Linked DNA regions of Homo sapiens: region 1 is linked to region 2. The links are contacts of gene promoters, found by promoter capture Hi-C in human tissues and cell types (Jung and others, 2019). All regions are on one chromosome and are shown on one strand. Each heading gives the region's core, a stretch centred on a gene start or on the middle of the fragment in contact. The rest is flanking DNA. Distances are from core to core; before and after follow the strand shown. Region 1 overlaps ANKMY1 (ankyrin repeat and MYND domain containing 1). Region 2 holds the start of SNED1 (sushi, nidogen and EGF like domains 1).

Region 1 (6,015 bases), core at 285-2,784, 450 kb after region 2:
AAACAACTCTCTGTAGGATTACTGGGCTGGTTTCAGTCCCCCCTTTTTGTTTATCAGTTCCTCAACCATGGGGAATCAGGTTGTGGGTCTTTCTGGCTGCTCCATGCTGAGGAGGGGCGTTGTGGGCAGCTCCATACCATGGGTGACCATGTGGTCACTTAGGAATCAAAGGTTAATCTAAATAGAGTTTTCTTCTAAAAGACAATCTCTTTCCATTCCCCCACTTGCATCAAAGACAAATAACAGTAGGACAACCTACTTGCAAAATAAGCTTCAGTTTCCTGGTGCCCTGATCACCCACACAAAGCACAGCAAGAACTGTGGTTCGCATAGGCTGTCCTAAACTGGCTTTGCCGGAACCTCTCGCAAGGCCATTTCAGTTAAAGCCTTGGGAAAATAACCAGTTCCCCCAGCTGTGTCCCATTATAAAATAAAACAGATTCTTATTAAACATATGCAAACAAACACGTTGCCATGAATTAAGAATATTCACAAATAGTTTAAAAATTCTGGAGAAATTAGGCAGAGAGAAATATGACTCAAATTTTGTTTACAAATGTATACTCTACTCAGTACACTTAAAGTATATTTCAAGGTTATGAATAGCTCAAAAGAAAAAAATTATCCTGACTCTGAAAGACAAAAGAAGAATCAGCAATATTTCAAAAAAAAAAAAAACATAAAAAGCATTCCAGTGTTCTGTTAGCTGAGTCCATGCAGTCAGCTCCTGCCCTGTGTCATATTGGGTGAGCAATGTTTATGAACACATCAGCCTTCCAATTAGTGCAGTGGAAGTTTTCTCTCTCATCCAGTGGCACAATCGCCAAAGTTATCAGACACCTGAATTCAATAGTCCTTTTCAGGAACTCCCCCAAAGAAGCAAGCCCTGGACGGTAGCTGATTACAAGTCACTTTTTTTGAGAAAGATCAAAGCAAAACAATTGTGGATGACAAAAGTCTTAAGGCAGCCATAGTCAAAAGATAGAGATGACAAGGAAATTTGGTTATTTCTGTGTCATACAACAATTTAACATAATAATCATTAACTATTGTTGACAACATATATTTAAACATATTAGAATTTCAAGAATGTCATAAATCCTGGAACACATATTAATAACATGTATATAAATAAAACCCAAAGAAAGTTAAATACCACCTCACAATTTACAATGCTTCCGGTATAATTCTAATATAACAAATAAGCCTAATATGTCTTTCTTGGACTTCAGGAAGCCTAATATCCAAAAAAAGTTAATTTAAGATCAAAAATTTACCTTCATCAAGAGTAAGATCTTTTTTTTTAAATTTATTATTATTATACTTTAAGTTTCAGGGTACATGTGCACAATGTGCAGGTTAGTTACATATGTATACATGTGCCATGCTGGTATGCTGCACCCACTAACTCGTCATCTAGCATTAGGTATATCTCCCAATGCTATCCCTCCCCCCTCCCCCCACCCCACAGCAGTCCCCAGAGTGTGATGTTCCCCTTCCTGTGTCCATGTGTTCTCGTTGTTCAATTCCCGCCTATGAGTGAGAATACGCGGTGTTTGGTTTTTTGTTCTTGCGATAGTTTACCGAGAATGATGATTTCCAATTTCATCCATGTCCCTACAAAGGATGTGAACTCATTTTTTATGGCTGCATAGTATTCCATGGTGTATATATGCCACATTTTCTTAATCCAGTCTATCATTGTTGGACATTTGGGTTGGTTCCAAGTCTTTGCTATTGTGAATAATGCCACAATAAACATACGTGTGCATGTGTCTTTATAGCAGCATGATTTATAGTCCTTTGGGTATATACCCGGTAATGGGATGGCTGGGTCAAATGGTATTTCTAGTTCTAGATCCCTGAGGAATCGCCACACTGACTTCCACAATGGTTGAACTAGTTTACAGTCCCACCAACAGTGTAAAAGTGTTCCTGTTTCTCCACATCCTCTCCAGCACCTGTTGTTTCCTGACTTTTTAATGATTGCCATTCTAACTGGTGTGAGATGGTATCTCATTGTGGTTTTGATTTGCATTTCTCTGATAGCCAGTGATGGTGAACATTTTTTCATGTGTTTTTTGGCTGCATAAATGTCTTCTTTTGAGAAGTGTCTGTTCATGTCCTTCACCCACTTTTTGATGGGGTTGTTTGTTTTTTTCTTGTAAATTTGTTTTGAGTTCATTGTAGATTCTGGATATTAGCCCTTTGTCAGATGAGTAGGTTGTGAAAATTTTCTCCCATTTTGTAGGTTGCCTGTTTACTCTGATGGTAGTTTCTTTTGCTGTGCAGAAGCTCTTTAATTTAATTAGATCCCATTTGTCAATTTTGGCTTTTGTTGCCATTGCTTTTGGTGTTTTAGACATGAAGTCGTTGCCCATGCCTATGTCCTGAATGGTAATGCCTAGGTTTCTTCTAGGGTTTTTATGGTTTTAGGTCTAACGTTTAAGTCTTTAATCCATCTTGAATTGATTTTTGTATAAGGTGTAAGGAAGGGATCCAGTTTCAGCTTTCTACATATGGCTAGCCAGTTTTCCCAGCACCATTTATTAAATAGGGAATCCTTTCCCCATTGCTTGTTTTTCTCAGGTTTGTCAAAGATCAGATAGTTGTAGATATGCGGCGTTATTTCTGAGGGCTCTGTTCTGTTCCATTGATCTATATCTCTGTTTTGGTACCAGTCCCATGCTGTTTTGGTTACTGTAGCCTTGTAGTATAGTTTGAAGTCAGGTAGTGTGATGCCTCCAGCTTTGTTCTTTTGGCTTAGGATTGACTTGGCGATGCGGGCTCTTTTTTGATTCCATATGAACTTTAAAGTAGTTTTTTCCAATTTTGTGAAGAAAGTCATTGGTAGCTTGATGGGGATGGCATTGAATCTGTAAATTACCTTGGGCAGTATGGCCATTTTCACGATATTGATTCTTCCTCCCAATGAGCATGGAATGTTCTTCCATTTGTTTGTATCCTCTTTTATTTCCTTGAGCAGTGGTTTGTAGTTCTCCTTGAAGAGGTCCTTCACATCCCTTGTAAGTTGGATTCCTAGGTATTTTATTCTCTTTGAAGCAATTGTGAATGGGAGTTCACTCATGATTTGGCTCTCTGTTTGTCTGTTGTTGGTGTATAAGAATGCTTTTGATTTTTGTACATTGATTTTGTATCCTGAGACTTTGCTGAAGTTGCTTATCAGCTTAAGGAGATTTTGGGCTGAGACAATGGGGTTTTCTAGATATACAATCATGTCGTCTGCAAACAGGGACAATTTGGCTTCCTCTTTTCCTAATTGAATACCCTTTATTTCCTTCTCCTGCCTAATTGCCCTGGCCAGAACTTCCAACACTATGTTGAATAGGAGTGGTGAGAGAGGGCATCCCTGTCTTGTGCCCGTTTTCAAAGGGAATGCTTCCAGTTTTTGCCCATTCAGTATGATACTGGCTGTGGGTTTGTCATAGATAGCTCTTATTATTTTGAGATACGTCCCATCAATACCTAATTTATTGAGAGTTTTTAGCGTGAAGTGTTGTTGAATTTTGTCAAAGGTCTTTTCTGCATCTAGTGAGATAATCATGTGGTTTTTGTCTTTGGTTCTGTTTATACGCTGGATTACATTTACTGATTTGCGTATATTGAACCACCCTTGCATCCCAGGGATGAAGCCCACTTGATCATGGTGGATAAGCTTTTTGATGTGCTGCTGGATTCGGTTTGGCAGTATTTTATTGAGGATTTTTGCATCAATGTTCATCAAGGATATTGGTCTAAAATTCTCTTTTTTGGTTGTGTCTCTGCCCGGCTTTGGTATCAGGATGATGCTGGCCTCATAAAATGAGTTAGGGAGGATTCCCTCTTTTTTTATTGATTCGAATAGCTTCAGAAGGAATGGTACCAGTTCCCCCTTGTACCTCTGGTAGAATTCGGCTGTGAATCCATCTGGTCCTGGACTCTTTTTGGTTGGTAAACTATTGATTATTGCCACAATTTCAGCTCCTGTTATTGGTCTATTCAGAGATTCAACTTCTTCCTGGTTTAGTCTTGGGAGAGTGTATGTGTTGAGGAATTTATCCATTTCTTCTAGATTTTCTAGTTTATTTGCGTAGAGGTGTTTGTAGTATTCTCTGATGGTAGTTTGTATTTCTGTGGGATCGGTGGTGATATCCCCTTTATCATTTTTTATTGCATCTATTTGATTCTTCTCTCTTTTTTTCTTTATTAGTCTTGCTAGCAGTCTATCAATTTTGTTGATCCTTTCAAAAAACCAGCTCCTGGATTCATTAATTTTTTGAAGGGTTTTTTGTGTCTCTATTTCCTTCAGTTCTGCTCTGATTTTAGTTATTTCTTGCCTTCTGCTAGCTTTTGAATGTGTTTGCTCTTGCTTTTCTAGTTCTTTTAATTGTGATGTTAGGGTGTCAATTTTGGATCTTTCCTGCTTTCTCTTGTGGGCATTTAGTGCTATAAATTTCCCTCTACACGCTGCTTTGAATGCGTCCCAGAGATTCTGGTATGTTATGTCTTTGTTCTCGTTGGTTTCAAAGAATATCTTTATTTCTGCCTTCATTTCGTTATGTACCCAGTAGTCATTCAGGAGCAAGTTGTTCAGTTTCCATGTAGTTGAGCGGTTTTGAGTGAGATTCTTAATACTGAGTTCTAGTTTGATTGCACTGTGGTCTGAGAGGATAGTTTGTTATAATTTCTGTTCTTTTACATTTGCTGAGGAGAGCTTTACTTCCAAGTATGTGGTCAATTTTGGAATAGGTGTGGTGTGGTGCTGAAAAAAATGTATATTCTGTTGATTTGGGGTGGAGAGTTCTGTAGGTGTCTATTAGGTCTGCTTGGTGCAGAGCTGAGTTCAATTCCTGGGTATCCTTGTTGACTTTCTGTCTCATTGATCTGTCTAATGTTGACAATGGGGTGTTAAAGTCTCCCATTATTAATGTGTGGGAGTCTAAGTCTCTTTGTAGGTCACTCAGGACTTGCTTTATGAATCTGGGCGCTCCTGTATTGGGTGCATATATATTTAGGATAGTTAGCTCTTCTTGTCGAATTGATCCCTTTACCATTATGTAATGGCCTTCTTTGTCTCTTTTGATCTTTGTTGGTTTAAAGTCTCTTTTATCAGAGACTAGTATTGCAACCCCTGCCTTTTTTTGTTTTCCATTTGCTTGGTAGATCTTCCTCCATCCTTTTATTTTGAGCCTATGTGTGTCTCTGCACGTGGGATGGGTTTCCTGAATACAGCACACTGATGGGTCTTGACTCTTTATCCAGTTTGCCAGTCTGTGTCTTTTAATTGGAGCATTTAGTCCATTTACATTTAAAGTTAATATTGTTATGTGTGAATCTGATCCTGTCATTATGATGTTAGCTGGTTATTTTGCTCGTTAGTTGATGCAGTTTCTTCCTAGTCTCAATGGTCTTTACATTTTGGCATGATTTTGCAGCGGCTGGTATCAGTTGTTCCTTTCCATGTTTAGCGCTTCCTTCAGGAGCTCTTTTAGGGCAGGCCTGGTGGTGACAAAATCTCTCAGCATTTGCTTGTCTGTAAAGTATTTTATTTCTCCTTCACTTATGAAGCTTAGTTTGGCTGGATATGAAATTCTGGGTTGAAAATTCTTTTCTTTAAGAATGTTGAATATTGGCCCCCACTCTCTTCTGGCTTGTAGGGTTTCTGCCGAGAGATCCACTGTTAGTCTGACGAGCTTCCCTTTGAGGGTAACCCGACCTTTCTCTCTGGCTGCCCTTAACATTTTTTCCTTCATTTCAACTTTGGTGAATCTGACAATTATGTGTCTTGGAGTTGCTCTTCTTGAGGAGTATCTTTGTGGCGTTCTCTGTATTTCCTGAATCTGAATGTTGGCCTGCCTTGCTAGATTGGGGAAGTTCTCCTGGATGATATCCTGCAGAGTGTTTTCCAATTTGGTTCCATTCTCCCCGTCACTTTCAGGTATACCAATCAGACGTAGATTTGGTCTTTTCACATAGTCCCGTATTTCTTGGAGGCTTTGCTCGTTTCTTTTTATT
Region 2 (6,327 bases), core at 3,600-6,099:
CCAAGACCATGAGCCCACCATGTGGATGTGGCACAGGAGGACTTACTGCTCAGGGTGCAGGCATCTTGCTGCATGCATCCTCTGGCCTCAGCAGGGGTGGAAGAGAGAGTCCTTCACCAGGGCACCACCACCACTGCAGCCCCAGGCTGTCGTCTGAGGCCTATTCTGAGCCCAACACCAGAATGGTGGCATGAGGATGGATGTGGTCCCTGCCTTCATGGGGTGCACATCCCAACACCTCCCAAACAAGAAAACTAAGGAGCAACCCAGCTGAGGTCAGAACCAACAAGCTGCAGTGAGCACAGAGGGTGGGGCTGGGGGAGTGCCTGAGCGGGGGGCCCGGGGGAGGGCGGAGGGGGGCAGGGAAGCGTAGCGGGGATTCTGGCGAGGAGAGACAGGATCCCACTGGTGTTTTGTATGGCTCCCTTGGTCACTCTGCACAGAGGAGGGCAGGCTGGAGGGAAAGGCCAAGAGCTGGAGGTCAGCAAGGGGGTGCTGCAGGTGTCCAGGCAAGTGGGGATGGACAGCTGGGAAGTGGTCCAAGTAGAGAGGCAGGCGGAGCTGCTGCTGACGTGGAGGGTGAGGGAGAGGAGGGAGGCATTGGGGAGGCTCTCAGGGGTTTATTCATGGAGATGGGTGGGCGCCAGGGAGGAAGCAGGACTTCTGTTTGGGTCCCACTGAGTTTGGGGTGGCACAGTAAGAGGCAGCTGGACGCAGGAGTCTGAAGGCCCCTGAATCTGCATTCTGAGCCTCGGTTTCCTCATCTGCACTGGGCATGACGTCCTGCTCCATCCTCTCAGGGGCTGCCTGTGAGGTCCAGGCAGATCACAGCTGTCCTGGGCTCATGGCCTTGACCTGGAGTCATCAGGCTCTCTCACTCCAGCATCCTCCTCGACTCCAGCCCCATTCCACTTCCCCAGGATCCCCTTCCATCTGCTTCCGTCACACCCAGGCAGCAGCAAGAAGGGCATGCTGATGAGGGGCAGGACCACCTTGGCCAAGCCCATAGCAGGGGGTGGGCCAGCCCGGGAACCTCAGTGAATAGGGCAGCCAAGGGGAAGCCCAGGACCCTCCTCCCAGCCAAGGGGCTCCTGCATTTGCTGGGGTGTTCCATGAGCTCAGAAGAGAGCAGAGATGGCAGTGATTTCTCCCCACATGTCTGCTCCCAGATCCACTCATGCGCAGGCCTCGGTCCCACTGAGACAGTCCCTGTGGGTCAGGGTGGATTTTCCAGATGGCTTGGAGCTGGCGACCACACAACCGTGACAGTGATGGGGTGTGTCACAGGTATGACCTGATGGGGGAGCTTCACCACACAGATGGGGAGACAGAGGCTCAGGGAGGAAATGACCAGGCAAAGGTCACAGGCTGCATGTGAACTCCCACACCAGAGCAGCTGCCCTGGGCTCCGTGTTCTGGGAGGGGTAGGGCCGGGACTGTGCCTGGATGGTAATGTTGTGCAGAGCCAGAGCCAGCAGACTTGCGGTGTGGCACGAAGCCTCAGGGCACAGAGTGGGGGTTTAGCCAGCACCAGCGAGGGTCAGTCTGACTGTCCACATTCCTCCTTCTTGCCTGCGGGCTCTGCAGGGCACCACCCACTCTTGACCCTCAAATCCTCCCTGCCTCTGCTCAGGGCTCTGTCGGGGGTCCTGATGCCAAAGAAACTGAGATCCTCCCATGGCCCAGAGACCATGCTGTGGATGGGGGCAGTGCTTGGAGCCAGGAGCTTCAGTGTAGGGGGCACCAGGAAGATTTCGTCTCTCATTCCCTGCACCTGCCCCTAGGAAACCACTCCACCTGCATAAGCCCCACAGACCGCGGCAAGCTCCGTCTTAATGCAGACACTGGCAGTTCCTGCATGGCAGGATAGCGGCAGCATGCCACACTCCTCAGCACGCCACACTCCTCGGCGCGCCACGCTCCTCGGCTGCATTATCTTTGTCTGTGTGTAGAACCTTAGCAATAAAATGCACTTTCAACACTTTTCAGAGCCTTACGACTTACCACACACATACAGCTACTATGACATGAGAAAGAAGCAAAACAATGGGTCCCTTCTGGAAAGGGGGCCACTCCATGTGTGGCAGAGCTGTCTTGCTAGGGCAGTAATCCATGTGCTATTTCTGATGAAGACAGAAGAAGCACCCATCTCATGCAAGAGCACTTCTAATTTCTACCTGTGACTTGCAGGCAGTGTCAGAGGGAGGCACATTCATTCATTCAGACAACAAGCCTACTCTTGGTCAAGCGACAGGCTGGGGGCGGAGGAGCGCAGAGGTCACTGCAGTGGGATGGGGGCTGGAGGGTCCTGGCTGGGCCTGACATGGGAGTCTGAGTCCAGGGCCAGCAGACACGAGGCCCCTATAGACTGGAGCTGGACAAGGGCCAGAGCCAGGGGCCTCAGAAGAGGGTCCGCTCGGCCTGGGTGGGCGTGGGAGGCCCCAGGCAGGTCCACTTCCTTCAGAACAAATGCCTCCCTTCTTTCCACCTGGCTTCAGCCCTAACCTGCTGCCAAGCACCCCTTTCTCTCTCCCTGCTTGACCACAGAGTCCGCACAGTTACTTCAGGCAAGGTGTCCTGGGCAACGCAGCCTCAAGCCTCCTGCTGAGCAAACAGAAAGGTGAAGTGCACTGCAGGCACTGTGTCCACATCGGCAAATGGTTTTCAAATAATATCTTTGTTTCAGGAAAAAGCTCCGATGGAGATAAATGTTTTGTTAGCAGCCAGAAGGTTCATTTCTGACGAAACCCTAGTTCTCCTAGCAGATCTTCCCACGTTAGAGCTGTTTCCCCTAGTTGCTCTGGCAAGGGCAGATGTTTTTGGTGAGGCTGTTAAGTGGGTTAACCATTTTAATAATATTTTCACCTGTGACTGTGAGTGGGAAAGCTGAGCCTGGCCCAAATGCTTAAGGAGCCTCTTGAGTTCTGTTCGGATGGTGCCAATGTGAGTGTCCCATACCTCAAGTGGACAGGCCTCCTCCAGCTCGGGCCAACGCTGAGCACCATTCTGTCCTACCCACTTCGTACTTCCAGGAGTCAGTCCCGTTCCTCTGTCCAAGTCCCGGTCCAGAGGGACTTTCAGGGGGTAGCACCGACAGCATGGCTGCCCCTCCCACCAGTCAGGTCACCCAGTGCTGCCACCGAGGTGGGGAGGCCTTCCTGAGCAGGTGTGGAAAACGCAGTGGGCGCTGTGGATGGTGTTGGCAGTTGTGGGGTGGGAGGCGCACTAGAGGGCATGTGGTGGAGGAGGCCCTGTGGATGGAGGTGGGGAGGGATGATGACAACCATGCAGAGGATGTGGATGGTGACGACGGGAAGCTGGGGACCATGGGGAAGGTGGTGGTGGAGGCAGTGCTGCTGGTGGTGGGGTTGAAGGAGGTGGTGTTGACGGAGGAGTTGGCAGTACAGGTGGTGTTACTCCGGGCAGCACAGATGGCAGAGGCGATGTGGCTGGCAGTGGGTTGAGGCTGGAGGTGGGCGAGGGTATGAGAGGGCTGATGGTGGAGGTGGCCGTGGTGACGGAGCTGGAGGGGACTCTACTTGAGGCTGGCCCAGCAGTTTTCTAGATATGATCTGGGGTGTTTCAGGGAACCACCAGGTACCAGTGCACCGTGGCCTACTCAGGGCGAGTGCTCCATGCAGTTACCAGGTGCATTTCATTCCCTGGGCTGCCATAAGGGCTTGGCCTGGGGTCACACTCTGGGAGCCATGGAGACAGAACCGGCACTCGGGCCTGTTCCTTCAGCTGAGCTGAGCCTGCTGTCATGAGTCCCTGGCCCCAGGAGTCCCACTGGGAGTCCTGTTTGGAGAGTCTGAGCCTGAGCGGCCAGCCCCCAGACTGCGGAGAGGACGGCAGGGAGGGGCAAGCCTGTTGCTAGCCCGCCTAGGAGGGTCAGCGAAGAAGCAGGCCCTGCCCTGAGCGCCTGGGCAAGGGGTCCAGCCTCCTGGCTCTGGGCCGCACTGGCGTCCACGGGGGGCGGGGCTGAAATGGCCCAAGGAGGGGCTGCAACCTTCGCAGGCCCGGCGCCCCACTTGGGAAACTGAGGCCCGGGAAGCCCGTGCCCACGGCCACATTGCCATGTGTGAAAACCAGGGCAGTACCAGGACCCCTGCTCTCCCCTGGGAATCAGGCGCCGGGAAGACGCGCTCGGCAGGTCTGGCAGGGGCCGGGGCGCCGCGCTCCACTCGCCCCCGCCTCGGTGCCCGGCGGCTGCCGCCCCCGCCCCGCCCGCGCGCCTCTCCCGCGGGCCGCTGTCCGGCCTTGGCCGCCGAGGAGGAAGCGCTGTCCTCATTCCACCTCGGGCCGCCCCGGTGCCAAGTGGCTGGCGGCGGCGGCGGGAGTCCGGGCCCGGCGGGCAGCGGCCGGGGCGCAGCTCCCTCCCCTCCCGGGCGCCCCGCGAGCCCGGGGGTTACTCACGTAGAGTCCGGAGTGCTCGGCACCGAAGAACGGGAAGGGCACCGAGAGCGGCCGCAGCCCCGAGCCGCCGTCGTCCTGCTTGGGGGTGACGGCGTCGCCGCGCTCGGCGCCGAACGGGTAGAAGTCGGCAAGGGCCACCGCGCCGCGCACCCCGCGCGCCCCAAGCCCCAGGGCCGCGGCCACCAGCAGCGCCCAGGCGACGCCGTGCCGCATCGCGGAGGTGTGCGGGCGGGACGGGGCGCTGGCGGAGCAGGGCGCTGGGGGACTAGGCTGCGCGCGGGGGTGGCCGGCAGGGCCAGGCGGGGTGCGGGGAGCGCGGGCGCGCCCGCTGGCCGCGCCGTCGGGGGCTCCGCGTCCCGCGCCCGTTCGGCCGGGCCGCGCTCTCGCCGCAGCTCCGCAGAGGAAAGCGCCGGGCGGGACCGCGTTCGGGGCCAGCCCCGCCCCTGGGGCCACGATTTAAATATCCAGCCCGGCGGTCACTCGGGGGGGCGGGGCCATGCAAATCGGGCGTCTCTTAAAGCGCCAGGCCCCGTGGGAGGGCGCGGGCGCGCGGGGAGCTCAGTCCCCTGGCGTGGGCACAGGCAAGGTGAGGGCTCTGCGGGCGCGCGCCCTGTGGTGGGGCCATGCTCCGCCCTGGGTCCCTACCCTGGTGGAGGCGCCTGGGCCCTCAGTGCCGTCCTGGGACAGACCTGTGTCCCTAAGGCCTGAGACGCTGGGCCCGCCCTGAAGGCGTGTCATCACGCGGGGGGCGGGAGGGGACCCTGGCCAGGCAGTGCCTGAATGAACCCGTTCCGTGCTGCCCCCTTCCCAGCCCTGAGCATGGGGACGCCAGGCTTCCAGCCACAGGGGCAGACTAACCCCGGAGCCCACTCCCTGCCTGGGTCTGTGTGAGGAAGAGCCCGGGCCGGAGACTAGGAGGCATGGAACAAAGTGTTTGCATCTGCGTGGCCGCATCAGGAGAAATTCCTGGGAGGCTCGGGACCTCGGGGCGACCCCTGGGTAAAGCAAACCCTCCGTGGGGAAGACTGACCCACTCAGGCCCTGGGGGCAAGTGCGTGCATGACACCGGCCTTGGCAGGTGGGGGCAGGACTCTGAGTCCCAGTATTTGAATTCAGGGTCCCCACCCTGTGGCCTGCCAGCCCTGCCCCCTGTCTCTTGGGCTGCTGGCCTGGGCTGCCTGTCTGTCCTTCCTCAGGGCCTCAGCCGGGACCACCTCTATGTCCCCAGGCCCATGGCAGGGTCTGATTCCTGGAACTCACCCGGCCCACCGTGGTCTCTTCTCTTAGATCCTGGTGTTGGGTGGTGTTGGCTGCGTGCCACACTGGGGCCCCCAAAGATAAGAGTGCACCCCTCGAAGACAAGCAGGAAAGGCCGGGCTGATGGTAACTGCATCTACCACTGAGGTGCTGGGTGGTTTTTTGTTTGTCTTTGCGTTTGTATCTTCTGAAATATCTCAAGTGAGCACGTGTTGTTTTTCAGTGAGAGCCAGGCACAGTCAATGTTATTTTTAAGAAGCAGCGGAGGGTTCTCTGCGTGTGACTGGGTGTTGCCGGTTCTCACAGATCCTGCACTTGGTGTTTTCACTCAGAGGTTCATGACCCTTTAGACTTGGTGTCAGGGCCGGGTGCAGAATTGTTAAGGAGGAGCTGACCCTGCACTGGCACCTCCTGAAAGCTTGCCCCTGGCGCCTCTCCCACCCTGCATGGGGTGGCAATTCTGTTTGCAGAGAGGCAAACTGGGCCTGGGAGGGGAAGGGCTCTGTCCCGCAGTTAGCCCTTAGGTCACCGTCCCAGCTTTCAGAGCTCCAGGACAGCAGCACAGCCATGGTTCCAGGGCCAGAAAGGTCAAGGCCTCCTGTCTTTGGAGGGAGGCACCAGAGAGGGCGTGGAACTGTAGAATCCCTACTTGAG

The links. Contacts are between HindIII fragments. The study calls those that stand out against the background at their distance.
Region 1: a fragment that was not itself captured here is called in contact with the fragment with the promoter of SNED1 in region 2 in 1 of the 25 tissues and cell types used here (H1 embryonic stem cells).

What each region holds. Positions count from the first base shown.
Region 1 is chr2:240,545,816-240,551,830 of GRCh38, reverse strand. All of the region lies in intron 4 of ANKMY1 (ankyrin repeat and MYND domain containing 1), which reads left to right. Among named protein-coding and RNA genes, the nearest start is that of ANKMY1, 9.2 kb to the left of the region's middle. The HindIII fragment of the contact is 6,176 bases long and covers 1-4,622 here.
Region 2 is chr2:240,997,140-241,003,466 of GRCh38, reverse strand. It overlaps SNED1 (sushi, nidogen and EGF like domains 1), which reads right to left and starts at 4,849. Exons shown (of 32, transcript NM_001080437.3): 1 at 4,417-4,849. The coding sequence starts at 4,629. RefSeq lists a silencer at 4,798-5,217. The HindIII fragment of the contact is 20,006 bases long and covers 1-6,327 here.